3 separate regions of the Homo sapiens genome follow, and regions 2 and 3 are each linked to region 1. Evidence: promoter capture Hi-C in 16 types of primary human blood cells and fetal thymus (Javierre and others, 2016). All regions are on one chromosome and are shown on one strand. The core of a region is centred on a gene start or on the middle of the fragment in contact, and the rest is flanking DNA. Distances in the headings are between cores, read along the strand shown.

What was found. Contacts are between HindIII fragments. The CHiCAGO score rates a contact against its expected background, and 5 or more counts as called.
Region 2: a contact is called between a fragment that was not itself captured here and the fragment with the promoter of RC3H1 in region 1, in 2 of 17 cell types (fetal thymus and monocytes). The highest score is 5.8, in fetal thymus.
Region 3: a fragment that was not itself captured here is called in contact with the fragment with the promoter of RC3H1 in region 1 in 1 of 17 cell types (neutrophils); the score reaches 7.4 in neutrophils.

Annotation. Positions count from the first base shown.
Region 1 is chr1:174,020,528-174,024,315 of GRCh38, forward strand. It overlaps RC3H1 (ring finger and CCCH-type domains 1), which reads right to left and starts at 1,830. Exons shown (of 20, transcript NM_172071.4): 1 at 1,569-1,830. It overlaps RC3H1-DT (RC3H1 divergent transcript), which reads left to right and starts at 1,956. Exons shown (of 2, transcript NR_187284.1): 1 at 1,956-2,113; 2 at 2,256-2,663. RefSeq lists enhancers at 456-575, 640-1,179 and silencers at 1,386-1,705, 1,816-2,065. The HindIII fragment of the contact is 5,810 bases long and covers 1-3,788 here.
Region 2 is chr1:173,416,554-173,420,763 of GRCh38, forward strand. It overlaps PRDX6-AS1 (PRDX6 antisense RNA 1), which reads right to left. Exons shown (of 2, transcript NR_125960.1): 2 at 1,236-2,069. The region is part of intron 2 of LOC100506023 (a long non-coding RNA gene); the gene reads right to left. It also overlaps a transcript of TNFSF4 not described here. Among named protein-coding and RNA genes, the nearest start is that of PRDX6-AS1, 43 kb to the right of the region's middle. RefSeq lists enhancers at 1,629-1,968, 3,727-3,826. The HindIII fragment of the contact is 1,686 bases long and covers 2,010-3,695 here.
Region 3 is chr1:174,738,286-174,742,491 of GRCh38, forward strand. All of the region lies in intron 17 of RABGAP1L (RAB GTPase activating protein 1 like), which reads left to right. Among named protein-coding and RNA genes, the nearest start is that of RABGAP1L-AS1, 210 kb to the right of the region's middle. The HindIII fragment of the contact is 537 bases long and covers 1,470-2,006 here.

The DNA.
Region 1 (3,788 bases), core at 580-3,079:
AGTGCTGAAAAGAACACAACCTATAACCCTTAGGCCTTGCAGTTGAATGTTAACAAGTGAAAAGCAATCTCCTTGGATGTATCCAAGCGATTTTAATATAAATTTCTGCATACCTAGGTAGAAAGTACTTTAGAAATAAATCTACCTTTTCCCTCACTTGTAAGAAAATGTGGTAGAAGCCTTGAAAAATTAAGTTTAAGGCTGAGCGAGGTGGCTCACGCCTGTAATCCAAGCACTTTGGGAGGCGGAGGAGGGCAGATGACTTGAGGTCAGGAGTTCCAGACCAGCCTGGCCAACATGGTGAAACCCCGTCTCTACTAAAAATACAAAAATCAGCCGGGCATGGTGGCGGGCGCCTGTAATCCCAGCTACTCCGGATGGTGAGGCAGGAGAATCGCTTGAATCCGGGAGGTGGAGGCTGTAGTGAGCCGAGATTGTGCCACTGCAATCCAGCCTGGGTGACAGAGCAAGACTCCGTCGCAAAACAAAACAAAAACGAAATCAAATTTCAAACTCAGAGAAAAGACTGGTCTTGAACAATTTCAGGAAAAATTACTGAAACACGAGACAAGGCACAAGAAGCTCTATGGCCGGAGATGAACCACCTGTCTCCTTTCGAAGTGCTTCCTGAGGTCCACTTTATGCTAGTTAATGTTGCTTCTTATACTGCATGTTAGTAATTCAAAACGCCTAGCTGGAATAAAAGTCCTCTTTAAACATTACAGTTTGTCTCCGCGTTGCCAGTGTTTGTTTCCAGTTTCATAGGCTATTCTGGTATGTCAAGAGTTGTGTTATTACTGTTCCAAAAGAGCCCTTGTTTCAATCCACTCTCACCTGGGATGCGGGCATAACTGATGTTTATAGAACTGATACTTAGAGATGTTTAGAGAGGCGCATCCCTTACCACTCCATCCTTTACCGATAACCACATTTTATATGTTTTTGTTGCATTTAAGTTTTTTGTTTTTTTTTTTTAAAGACACCTGCACACACACAATTTTCCCATCGCCAGCAGGGAGAAGACTACCAGGCTAGATCTCCAGGGACTTCAGGGAAACAGACACCGTGAAATCCACTTGGCCAAAGAAGGGGAGCGCTTCAGGGGCTGGGGGAGGAAGCAGCCCTGAGGTGCTGGGAGGCCGAGGCGGCGCCTGTTTACAGACGCCTTCGCCCTCCCCCACCCCCACAGACTAGGGGTCCAAAAAGCAGTTCCCGTGCGCATTCCCCGCCTGGCCCAGGCCCTGGGAGTACCACAGGAGCCAGGTAGCCCTTTCGCCCCCTCCCTCTCGTCCGAGCCTCCCTTCGTCCTCCTCTCGGCCTACCTACCCCGACAGGCCCTACAGGCGGCATGCAGAGGCCTGAGGCCTAAAGGACGCCGGCCACTGACAAGCCCCAGAACAGCCGGCGGGGGCCCTGAGGAGCCTGGGGCCGGCCGGGCTGCCGCTGCCGCGGAGGAGCAGAGGGCGGGCGAGGACAAACCCTTCCCGACCACAGCTGCCTATTGTTCCCGACTGAGGCCCCGGCCGCGGCAGCCCCGCTCCCCAAGTCGCCGCCCGCCGCTCGCTCACCGCGCTGGTCCGAGCAGCAGCTCCTCTCAGCTCCGAGTCCCCGCGGCCGTCGCCACCGCCGCGGCAGCCGCCGCCGCCGCCGAGGCCACCGTTGACTCTGATTCTGTCCCAGGCCGCCGGGCCACGGCTGCCGCCGCCACCGCCAGCACCGCCTCCGGCCTCCCACCTGCTGCTGCTGAGGCTGCTCCTGCAGCAGGGGCCATCTTGTTGCTCGGCCTCCTCTTCCTCCTCCTCGTCCTCCGCCGCCCAGTCGCTCGTTGTCCTCGTCCCCTTCCTCTTCCTCAGGCTCCGGCCCGCCCCGGAGACTGGGGCGGAGACGAGGGCGAGGATCCTCCCTCAGGAGGCGGGGCGGGCGGAGGGGAGGGGCGGGCGCGGGAGCAAAGCTCTGAGTCACCGGCCACCAACGCCCGGAGGGAGACCGGCGACGCTCTCCGCCGCGACCGAAAGTCTCACACGCCCTGAGCAGATGAACCGGTCCCTCGGTCCGGTCTGCCCTCCCGCACCGGCGCCTTTGGGCTCAGCGGGCCAGTGGCCAGATGGCGAGAGTAAATTGGGGGAATTTCTTTCGTTTCCATCGAACCCCACACTACGTCTACTCTTTCGGCTTTCTCAGCCGTTGTCCCCCAACTCTTGTTTCTTTTTCACGTCTTGTCCCCCACCCCATTTTTCTTCTTCCATATTATCCAGGTTCTGGATCTCATCAGCTTTGTCCTCGTCACCCCTCTGGGAGTTCAGCCTCCTAAGGCTGTGAAACAGCCCAAAAGGCCCGGACACGCTACTCCAAAACGTCTCTCCTGGGCTGTGTGAACAATAAGAGCTATTTGGGGACGACAGGAAAAGATATGGCCCATAGAAGGGCTCCTGAAATCTAACCTTGCGACTCTTTAAAAGTTTCTTGTCCCTTGTGGAAAAGGTGCCGTTTTGGTTTTGGGGAATGGGAGGTCCCTTCAGACAATTCATTTTAGCCAAACCCTCGCTTTTGAGAAGGGGAAGAAATGGGATTATTGTAACACCATACAGTACTAATTTCAAAATAAATCATCTAGAATAGAGGAGAGAGAGAGTCCCCAAATAAACAACCATTTAATACCTCTACTCGGCGCTATCACCTTTTTTGCTTCAGGATTTGACCAAGAGAGCAGAGATTATGTTTTTCTGTCCTTTCTTCACTGTTTACATCACAGTACCCCAAGAGAAGCACTTCTGCCTTTAACTTGATACATTGGAATCGCTATCACAGATAGTGTTTTTGTATTATTTTTAAGAAATATCACACACCTTCCTAAACTCTTGGCAGAGAAGAATTCTTTTTAGTTGTTAGCACCCTCCTGCTACTGAGATCTCAGCTTCTGTTTAGAAGACCTATTGTTGTCTTTCCACTGATTGGAATTTGCTGCCTCTGAACTGGGTTTAATCTGTAATCGTCTTTTCAGCCTACTAAATAGTAACCCCAGTCCTACAGAGAGTGAATTTCTAGCTACCACAGGGGGATTTAGGTTAGCATGTGCCAATCTAAAGGGATCTCTTAAAGCCTTTCCCTTCTCAGACCAGGCCTCTGTACCCTGCTAGGAAAAACAGATTAATCTGCTCCTCCTGCTTTTCCTCCTCCTCCCTTCTTCTCACTCCTAGGGAACCTTCCACAACAGAAGGTTTTAGCGACTGTTGCTAGGCAAACATGCCAACTTCCTTGTTTAGGTGAAGCGAGTAACTCAACTTCCATTGCAAGTAACCTAGATAATGTAATTTCTTTGAACTATTAATAGTTATACCACAGTTGGTAAGGCTCCTTAAAGGTTCCCTTAAGCAGTATGATTTTTACGTTGTTTATTTTTATCTCGTCAATATTTCAATTAAAAATACGTTAAAGGACAGATAGATGCAGTGGCTCACGCCTGTAATCCCAACATTTTAGGAGGCTGAGGGGGGCGGATCACCTGAGGTCCGGAGCCTGACCAACGTGGAGAAACCCCATCTCTACTAAAAATACAAAAATTAGCCAGGTGTGGTGGCGTGCACCTATAGTCCTAGCTACTCGGGAGGCTGAGGCAGGAGAATCACTTGAACCTGGGAGGTGGAGGTTGTAGTGAGCCGAGATCACGCCATTGCACTCCAGTCTGGGCAAAAAGAGCTAAACTCTGTCTCAAAAAAAAAAAAAAAAAAAAAAAAAAAGTTAAAAATGGCGGCGCTTCCCCAAACCCAAATTCATTTTAGTGATATAAA
Region 2 (4,210 bases), core at 1,603-4,102, 600 kb before region 1:
TGGCCAAAACATTGCTTCCTTTCACTGAGGACATTATAAATGTTATTTTTTTATTTTTATTTATTTATTTATTTATTTATTTTTTGAGAGAGAGAGAGAAGATCTCACTCTGTTGCCCAGGCTGGAGTGCAGTGATGTCATTTTGGCTCACTGCAACCTCAGCCTCCTGAATTGCTGGGACCACAGATGTGCGCCAGCATGCCCGGCTAATTTTTGTATTTTTAGTAGAGACAGGGTTTCGCCATGTTGCCTAGGCTGATCTCAAACTCCTGGACTCAAGCGATCCACCCGCCTCGGCCTCCCAAAGTGCTGGGATTACAGTTGTGAGCCATTGTGGCCGGCCACAAATGTTATTTTTAAAGCACACACACATTCCTGGTGGAAGGTAAGTATCCTCAGCACCCATTTCCTGAAACGTCTTTTAATCATCACAATATGGAGATTGTATTATTATCTCTATTTTAAAGACAGGGCAGTATTTTCCTGGGGCAGTATTTCCCAAATTGTGTCCCACGGAATGCTAATAACAGTACTAAGAGGTAAGTGGTGCTCACTTTTGAAAATGCTCCTATAGCCAAATATTTTTGAGAAATAATGCAGAGGAATGGTGCATTTGTGAGCATAGACCCAGGAGTCAGAGACACCTCGGTTTGGGGCCGAGCCCCACTGATTATCAGCTTTGCGGGTGCAGCAATAATAATCCTAGCTTCCTTATCTGGGATGTGGGAATAATGAAATACCCGCTTCATAAGGTTCGTGTGAGGGTTGATGTTATGAGGTAACAAATGTAAAGCTCTTAGCACATAGCTGGTGCAAAAAAAGTCTTCAATAAACAAGAACTCTTATTGGCATTGTAGCAGGTTAAATATTGTTAACATCTTACAGCTAGACCTATAATTTTTTTAGGGAGAGATCAATTTTGTTTAGGAAAACATCTTAATAAACCACGTGGAAGCGTGGCCAGCAATGAGACTCTGAAGTTACAAGCCATCAATAACCAAGACCAAAACCTAGAAAACCAAGTTTGAAAAAGCCAGAGTCCCATAGAGGGTGAGTACTGATTTCTCTCATTGCCTGACATTATAACAAAGAGGTTCAGGGCACAAAGATGAGATCTCACCTCCGTCTTCACCTCCCTCTTTTTAGTACTACTCCATCCTTTACAGATTCACCTACACACACTCACACATGCACACACACCACTCCCTTTTCAGGAAGAAAGCTACAGGCTCCAGTTAATTAGAAATTCTACTATTTCAGCTTTATTACTTCCTCTTTACTCTCTGAACTTTAAAGGAACACATTTCTGTAAAGTTTAAATTATTTCAATGAGGTGTATTACCTTTTTAACTGGGGGTGGGAGGGAAGCACTTTTTTTTTCTTTTTTTTTTTTTTAATGTTGAAGACTCCACTCAGTCATTTGAGCTCCAGGAAGCCTTCCCTGGCCACCCATAAGTTAAGAGAAGAGCCCCTCTTCTGAGCTCCCAGAGCACCCACTTCATACCTATGCTATAGAACACACCGCCAAGGACGGAAATTATCCAAAGGTTTGTGTCCATTGATTGCCATGCCAGGCATCCAGCTCTGCTGAAGCACGCAGGGGCCCTGACTTCCTCATTAGGTATTCTCAACACCTCCACCAGCAGCTGGTAGGCAGCAGAGCTATTGTTACTGAGCTGCCCACGGCACCAATGGATCTATGAATGAACCTGAACGTCTTCCCTGGAGAAAAGCACTTGCTTGTCAAGGGAGGAACAGGGGTCTGAAATGCTAACCCCTGCCCTATAGTATGGGTGTGCATACGGTGCACCTTCCAAAGCCCAGAGTGGCATTCTTATTACATCCCGGAAACCCCCTGGTCAGGGGCTTTTGGGGTGACATCCAATATGTAAATACCAGGGTCGGGTCCTGCTGAGTGGCATAACAGTGCCATATGTGAAAGTTCCACCAGCAGCAGAGGGCTCTTTCATTAGTCATTTCACTGCACACAGCTGTAAGGAATCTGGCGAAGCTTGATTTGGCTGGGAGGAGTGCATTTTCCACTTGTAGGCGTCTTGAAAACTTTCATACTAAAAAAAAAAAAAAAATTAACAACAAGAAAATCATCATAGTCCAAAATGAGAAGCCAGAAATTGAAGGTGGAGAGCCAGGGTAGCAAACATAATGGAGGGACTCCAAGACCGGGCTTCCACCAGGACCCTACACTGACTCACAGATGTGTAATGGTCATGGCGAGCCTTACATGTAAACAGAGATCCCAACATGTCCCAGAGGTAGTGGCTGTGGAAGCCTGGGCAGATGCCAGGCAGTATTCTAAGGTTAAGCATTGCTATGGTTTGAATGTGACCCCCAAATTTCATGTGCTGGAAACTTAATTCCCAAATTCACATATCGATGACATTTGGAGGTAGGGCCTTTGAGAGGTAATTAAGATTAAATAAGGCCATGAGTGTGTGGCCCCCACGGTGGGGCTGGTGGCTTTATAAGAAGAGTTAGAGTAACCTGGCCGGGTGCTGTGGCTCACGCCTGTAATCCCAGCACTTTGGGAGGCCAAGGCGGGCAGATCACGAGGTCAGGAGATCGAGACCATCCTGGCTAACACGGTGAAACCCCATCTCTACCAAAAAAATACAAAAAAATTAGCCGGGTGTGGTGGCGGGCACCTGTAGTCCCAGCTACTTGGGAGGCTGAGGCAGGAGAGTGGCCTGAACCTGGGAGGCGGAGCTTGCAGGGAGCTGAGATCACACCACTGCACTCCAGCCTGGGTGACAGAGCAAGACTCCGTCTCAGAAAAAAAAAAAAAAAAGAAGAGTTAGAGTAACCCAAGCGGACAAGCCTGCTCTTGCCCACTTGCCATGTGATGCCCTCTGCCACGTGAGGATGCAGCAAGAAGGCCTTCACCAAATGCCAGCACCATGTGCTTGGACTTCCCAGCCTCCAGAACTATAAGCAATAAATTTCTTGTCTTTATAAATGATCCAGTCTGTAGAATTCTGTTACAGCAATGGACTAAGACAGGCATGATTTGGGGTACAGAGAAGGAAAACTGAGAGGTCACAGAAGAGAGAGGAGGGTGGAAGCTGGGGGAGAGGCACTGATGGAACCAGCTTCCACCCTTCCCTGCAGGGCTTGGAAAGACCCATGAGGACACAAGGGAGAATAAAAGGAAGCAGCCCTGATTGCCATGGCTGGGTCAGGGTCAGGAGGCTAGGACTGCTTTATGTCCCTGCTATAATGGACTTATGGGTTTTTTAAGATTTTTTAAAATAGATTAACTATAGCTCCTAGAGCTGACTCTACTGATAACTTTACCCTGGACTCCCTCCCTGATTTTGACCTTAGTTTGTGTGGCGGGGGGGGGGATGAGAGGCTGCGGTCCAAATGGAATGCAGTTTGCCTGTCCTCTATCAGCATCAATGCATCACCTTTCCCCCGATTTTTACCTCATGATATATTTATGCATTTAACGCATGTTTATTGAGTGAGCTGCATGCAGCAAAATGCACGTAAAAAGCAATTTTTTTTCTTTTTTCTTTGTCCTTTCAACTCCTCTCTCTGGATTTGCCTTGTCCCTGCACTTGAGATGAAAGCTAACCAATACCACGGATTTTCTAGCCACTCTGAGCCATTAAATAAAGAGGCTCTTTAAAACAAACAAACAAAAAAAAAAGTAAAAAACAGTCTACTCAACCTGAAGCTTCTCCCCTCTCAGACTCCTTCACTTCAGGTTTGGAAACTCGGTACCAAGGAGGAAGGCATGGACTTCACCATTTTCTCTCCTCCACCTCTCGTAGCCAGCTGCTAATTCTCAAGCCTCAAGCTGTGAGAGATTGAGAACTGAGGGAAAGGACACAGTACTTGACGGCTCTTACTGTCATGACGCGGCCTTGGTGCCCTCTGGGTTTAGCATGTTTTCCAACGCTTTCCTTTCCAGCCTCACTTAGGCACATTGCAGTTAAAGAATATGGCCACCAGGTGGCAGTAAAGGCCTTTTTTTTTCCTGGCCAGTAGACCCTACCCTCCGGTTTTATATGGCTACATAATTTCTTTAAGATGATGTCAAATATGCTTTCCCTACATTTCAAAAGAAAAGAAAGTAAACACTTAAAACCACAAACTGGTCAACTTAGCAAAAACTAAATATAATTTAAAGATGATGCCCTAGGGAATAAACGTGTAAAGAAAACCTCCCAAGTTGTTAATTATGTAA
Region 3 (4,206 bases), core at 488-2,987, 720 kb after region 1:
GTTATTTCCCCCCAGCAGTTTTGCTGCGATGAATTTCAGGGGTAGAAGCAGGAATGGTGGAATAAGGAATTGGAATTCAGGCCTACTTGTATAAGGCCCTCCTCAGTTGACCTATACCAGTATTTCTACATTTTTCTTATTTGACTTCTCTTACCTTGTAAAATATATAGAAATCAGTGGTTTCTAGGGTCTGCAGAGTGGGGTGGGTGGCACTAAAATACAGTAGATGTTAATACCCGTCTTAGACTTAATGAATCAGAATTATCCAGGGTGGGATCCAGGAATCTGAACTTTTAACAAATCTCTTTTGTTATTCTTAACTGGTACTCCTCAATTTACTGTTTAGGAATCTTACACATGGGGGAGGTTGAGACACTTAACTAAGCTAGTTGGTGGCAGAAATGAAACTGTGATATGGATCTTCTAACTCCTGCTCTAAAGCTTTTGATTTATAGTATAGTATTAATGAACTTCTATTGTGAACTTGCAGACCGTTTAATATTAGGTTCAATATACTATGTTTAAATGGGAATGAATTTCACAGGGCTTATAGAGCCTTTCCCCATAATTGTAAAATTTTTGCAGCAACCGCTATATTACTGTTGCTACAATTTTCTTTGCTAATTAGGTCTCTTTGCCTTGTAGCTCTCACTTTTAAATTGTTTTTGTTTTGTCATTTAGTAGATCTCAGAGCAATTAACTAAACTAATTCTTCCATCTTTTTTTAAATGGAGACATCTCCTCCTCACTATGGCAGGAAGATCTGTGATTTCTAGTATAACTGCTTGATGTGAGGACAGGGTTACTTGGGAAAGAACTTTCAGCATGAGTGATTTAATTATCTGCCTCCATTAGATAGGTACCTTTCTCTTGCTTGGCTCCTAATAAAGGAACAAGCACTCTCATCCATTTTACGGTTTAAATAAATTTTACAGTTAAATATGACTAGATATACTTTTAGTACCCAAAGTTGTGGATATTTTGTTCCATAAAAGCTAATTACTAATAGAAAATGGTTTGCTAGATAAATTACTTAACTGAAAATATACTAGAAGCTTATTTGTGCTTTCTAAAAAAGTTGATAATTATGATTCACTGGTTAGAAGTTGTAGATTTTACATATCCCTGATGTATAGATGGATAAGTGCAAATAGGAAAACTATGCTCTTAAATTATCATGATTGCTTGAAAACTTGGTAATGCTCAGTTCTCAGTCTGGTTTCATACTAGAAACTCCTGGAAGTTCTTAAAAATACAAGTGACCACATTCTACTCCTGAGAAATTTCTATTTATTTGACCTAAGATGGATCTCCTGCCTCTGTGTGTTATGAAAGCTCCCCAGGTGATTTTAATAAGCAGCCATGGTTGAGAGCCAATGGTCTAATGGAAAGAGAACTGAATTATAATCAGGAAACTTGTCATTCCAGTCTTAATTCTGTGAACTCAGGTAAATCATCTAACATATTTAAGCTTGCATTGTAAAATGGAGGTAATTAATAATGGCCTATATGCCGGATTAATATTTTTACAGTTGAATGAAACTATATACTCAAAAGTGCTTTGCAGTAAAGTGTTATACAGATGGTGGCATAGCAATTAAGATTTACTACGCAATATACTACTGTGAAGTGGTATGTTTAGTCTTTTGTACTTCTTGGCAGAAAGATGCTAGATCCCCTGTGGCAGAAAGAAACTTAGGCTCCTTAGCGATCCTCAGGGTATATTATTATGATTCTTAAAGTTCACTCTGTATTTTTATGTGTACCAGGCTGCTAGTGTCTCTAGGTGATAGGGGGAAAAGGTAGAGGAAAGGGTGGAGTTGCTCCTGCTGGTGATTTTTTAAAATTGTGAGTTCCTATAATTAGTAACATCCTTCTTACATCTTCATAGAGACATGGTTGGTAGCAGTGGAGTCGTTTATATAACTTTACAAACCCTCTCTTGTGTACTCTTTTTCAATGTTATTCTCTTAAATCACTTCTGTCTCTGCTTTCCCTAGTGTTTAAGCTTCACTAACATTTACCTATATATAAATGGATGAGGACAGAAGAGAAAGGGTCCCCAAAGATGAATACACTCATTACTGGTTTCCCAACATGATATAAACCTAGGACTTCACCCCTTGGAGGGATGAAAGTTTACTATGCATAGCATTTCCTGGTGTGTCAGTCTCGGTACAGCCTCTTGCTCAATTCATCAGCTGTTTCCAGGCAAAATTACATACCACTTCTTGAGTGTTTTAAAGCCTCCTAACTGTATATATGTGAGTTCTTTGATATATTGACTTCTTTTTCTTTGAGTCGATTCCCAGTAGTGGCATTGCTGGATCAAATGGTAATTATATTTTTATTTTTTTGAGAAATCTCCATACTGTTTTCCATAGTGGCTGTACTAGTTTACATTCCCACCAACAGTGTATATGAGTTCCCTTTTCTCCACTTTCTTGTCAACATCTGTCTTTTTTAATAATAGGGATTCTGGCTGAGGTATGCTATCTCATTGTGGTTTTGATTTGCATTTCTCTGATGATTCATGAGGTTGAACATTTTTTCATATACCTGTTGGCTGTTTGTATTTATTTTTTTGAGAAATGGCTATTCATATACTTTGCCCAAGTATGAATGGGATTATTTGTTTTTTTCCTGTTGAGTTGAGTTCCTTATCTGTTCTATATATTAGTTCCTGTTGGATAAATAATTTGCAAATATTTTATCCCATTCTGCAGGTTGTCTCTTCACTCTGTTGATTTTTTTGTTTTGTTTTTTTTTTTTTGTGTGTGGGAGCTTTTTAGTTTAATTAATTCCCAATCACTTATTTTTGGTTTTGTTGCCTGATCTTTTGAGGCCTTTGTAACAAATTCTTTGCCTAAACCAACAACCAGGAGAGGGTTCCCTAGATTTTTTCTTCTAATATTTCTATAGTATCAGGTTTTACTTTTAAGTCTTTAATCTACTTTGAGTTCATTTTTGTATATGGTGAGATAATGGTCCAGTTACATTCTTCTGCATGGCTATACAATTTTCCCAGCACCGTTTATTGAAGAGATTGTCCTTTCCCCAGTGTAAGTTTTTGTTGTTTGTTTTTGTGTTTTTTTGAGACAGAGTCTTGCCTTGTCACCCAGGCTGGAGTGCAGTGGCATGATCACTGCTCACTGTGGCCTCAACCTCATGGGCCCAGATGATCCCCCTGCCTCACCCTCCCAAGTAGCTCAGACTACAGGCATTTGCTGCCACACCTGACTGGTGTTTTATTTTTTGTAGAGATGGGGTCTCACTCTGTTGCCTAGGCTGGTTTTGAACTCCTGGGTTCAAGCAATCCTCCTGCCTCAGCCTTCCAAAGTGTTGGGATTACAGGTGTGAGCCACTGTACCCGGCCCCCAGTATAAATTCTTGTTGGCTTTGTTGAAGATCAGTTGGCTGTAACTATGTGTCTTTATTTCTGAGTTCTCTGTTTTGTTCTACTGGTCTATGTGGCTACTTTTATACCATGTTGTGGCATTTTTAAGGATTTTTTTTTTAAGTGGGGAGTTTGAGACCAGCCTGGGCAACATGGCAAAAGCCTATTTCTACAAAAAAAAAAAAAAAAAAAAAAAAAGTAGAAAAATTAGCCAGGCATGGTGGCATGCGCCTATAGACCCAGCTACTTGGGAGGCTGAGGTGGGAGGATTGCTTGAGCCTGGAAGGTTGAGGCTGTGGTGAGCCATGATAGCACTACTATGCTCCAGCCTGGGTGACAGAGCAAGACCCTGTCTCAAAAAAAAAAGAAGAAGAAGAAGAGGAAGAGGAGGGGGAGGGGGGAGGAGGAGGAAAGAAGAAGAAGAGGAGGAGGGGGAGGGGGAGGAGGAAGAAAGAAGAAGAGGAAGAGGAGAGGGAGGGGGAGGAGGAGGAAAGAAGAAGAAGAGGAGGAGGGGGAGGGGGAGGAGGAGGAAAGAAGAAGAAGAAAGAAAAGGGGGCCAGATGCGGTGGCTCAGCTTGTAATCCCAGCACTTTAGGAGGCCAAGGCAGGTGGATCACTTGAGGTCAGGAGTTCGAGACCAGCCTAACTAATGTGGTGAAACCCATCTCTACTAAAAATACAAAAATTAGTTGAGTGTAGTGGCGCACACCTGTAATCCCAGCTACTCGGGAGGCTGAGGCAGGAGATTTGCTTAAGCCCAGGAGGCGGAGGTTGCAGTGAGCTGAGATCGCGCCACTGCACTCCAGCCT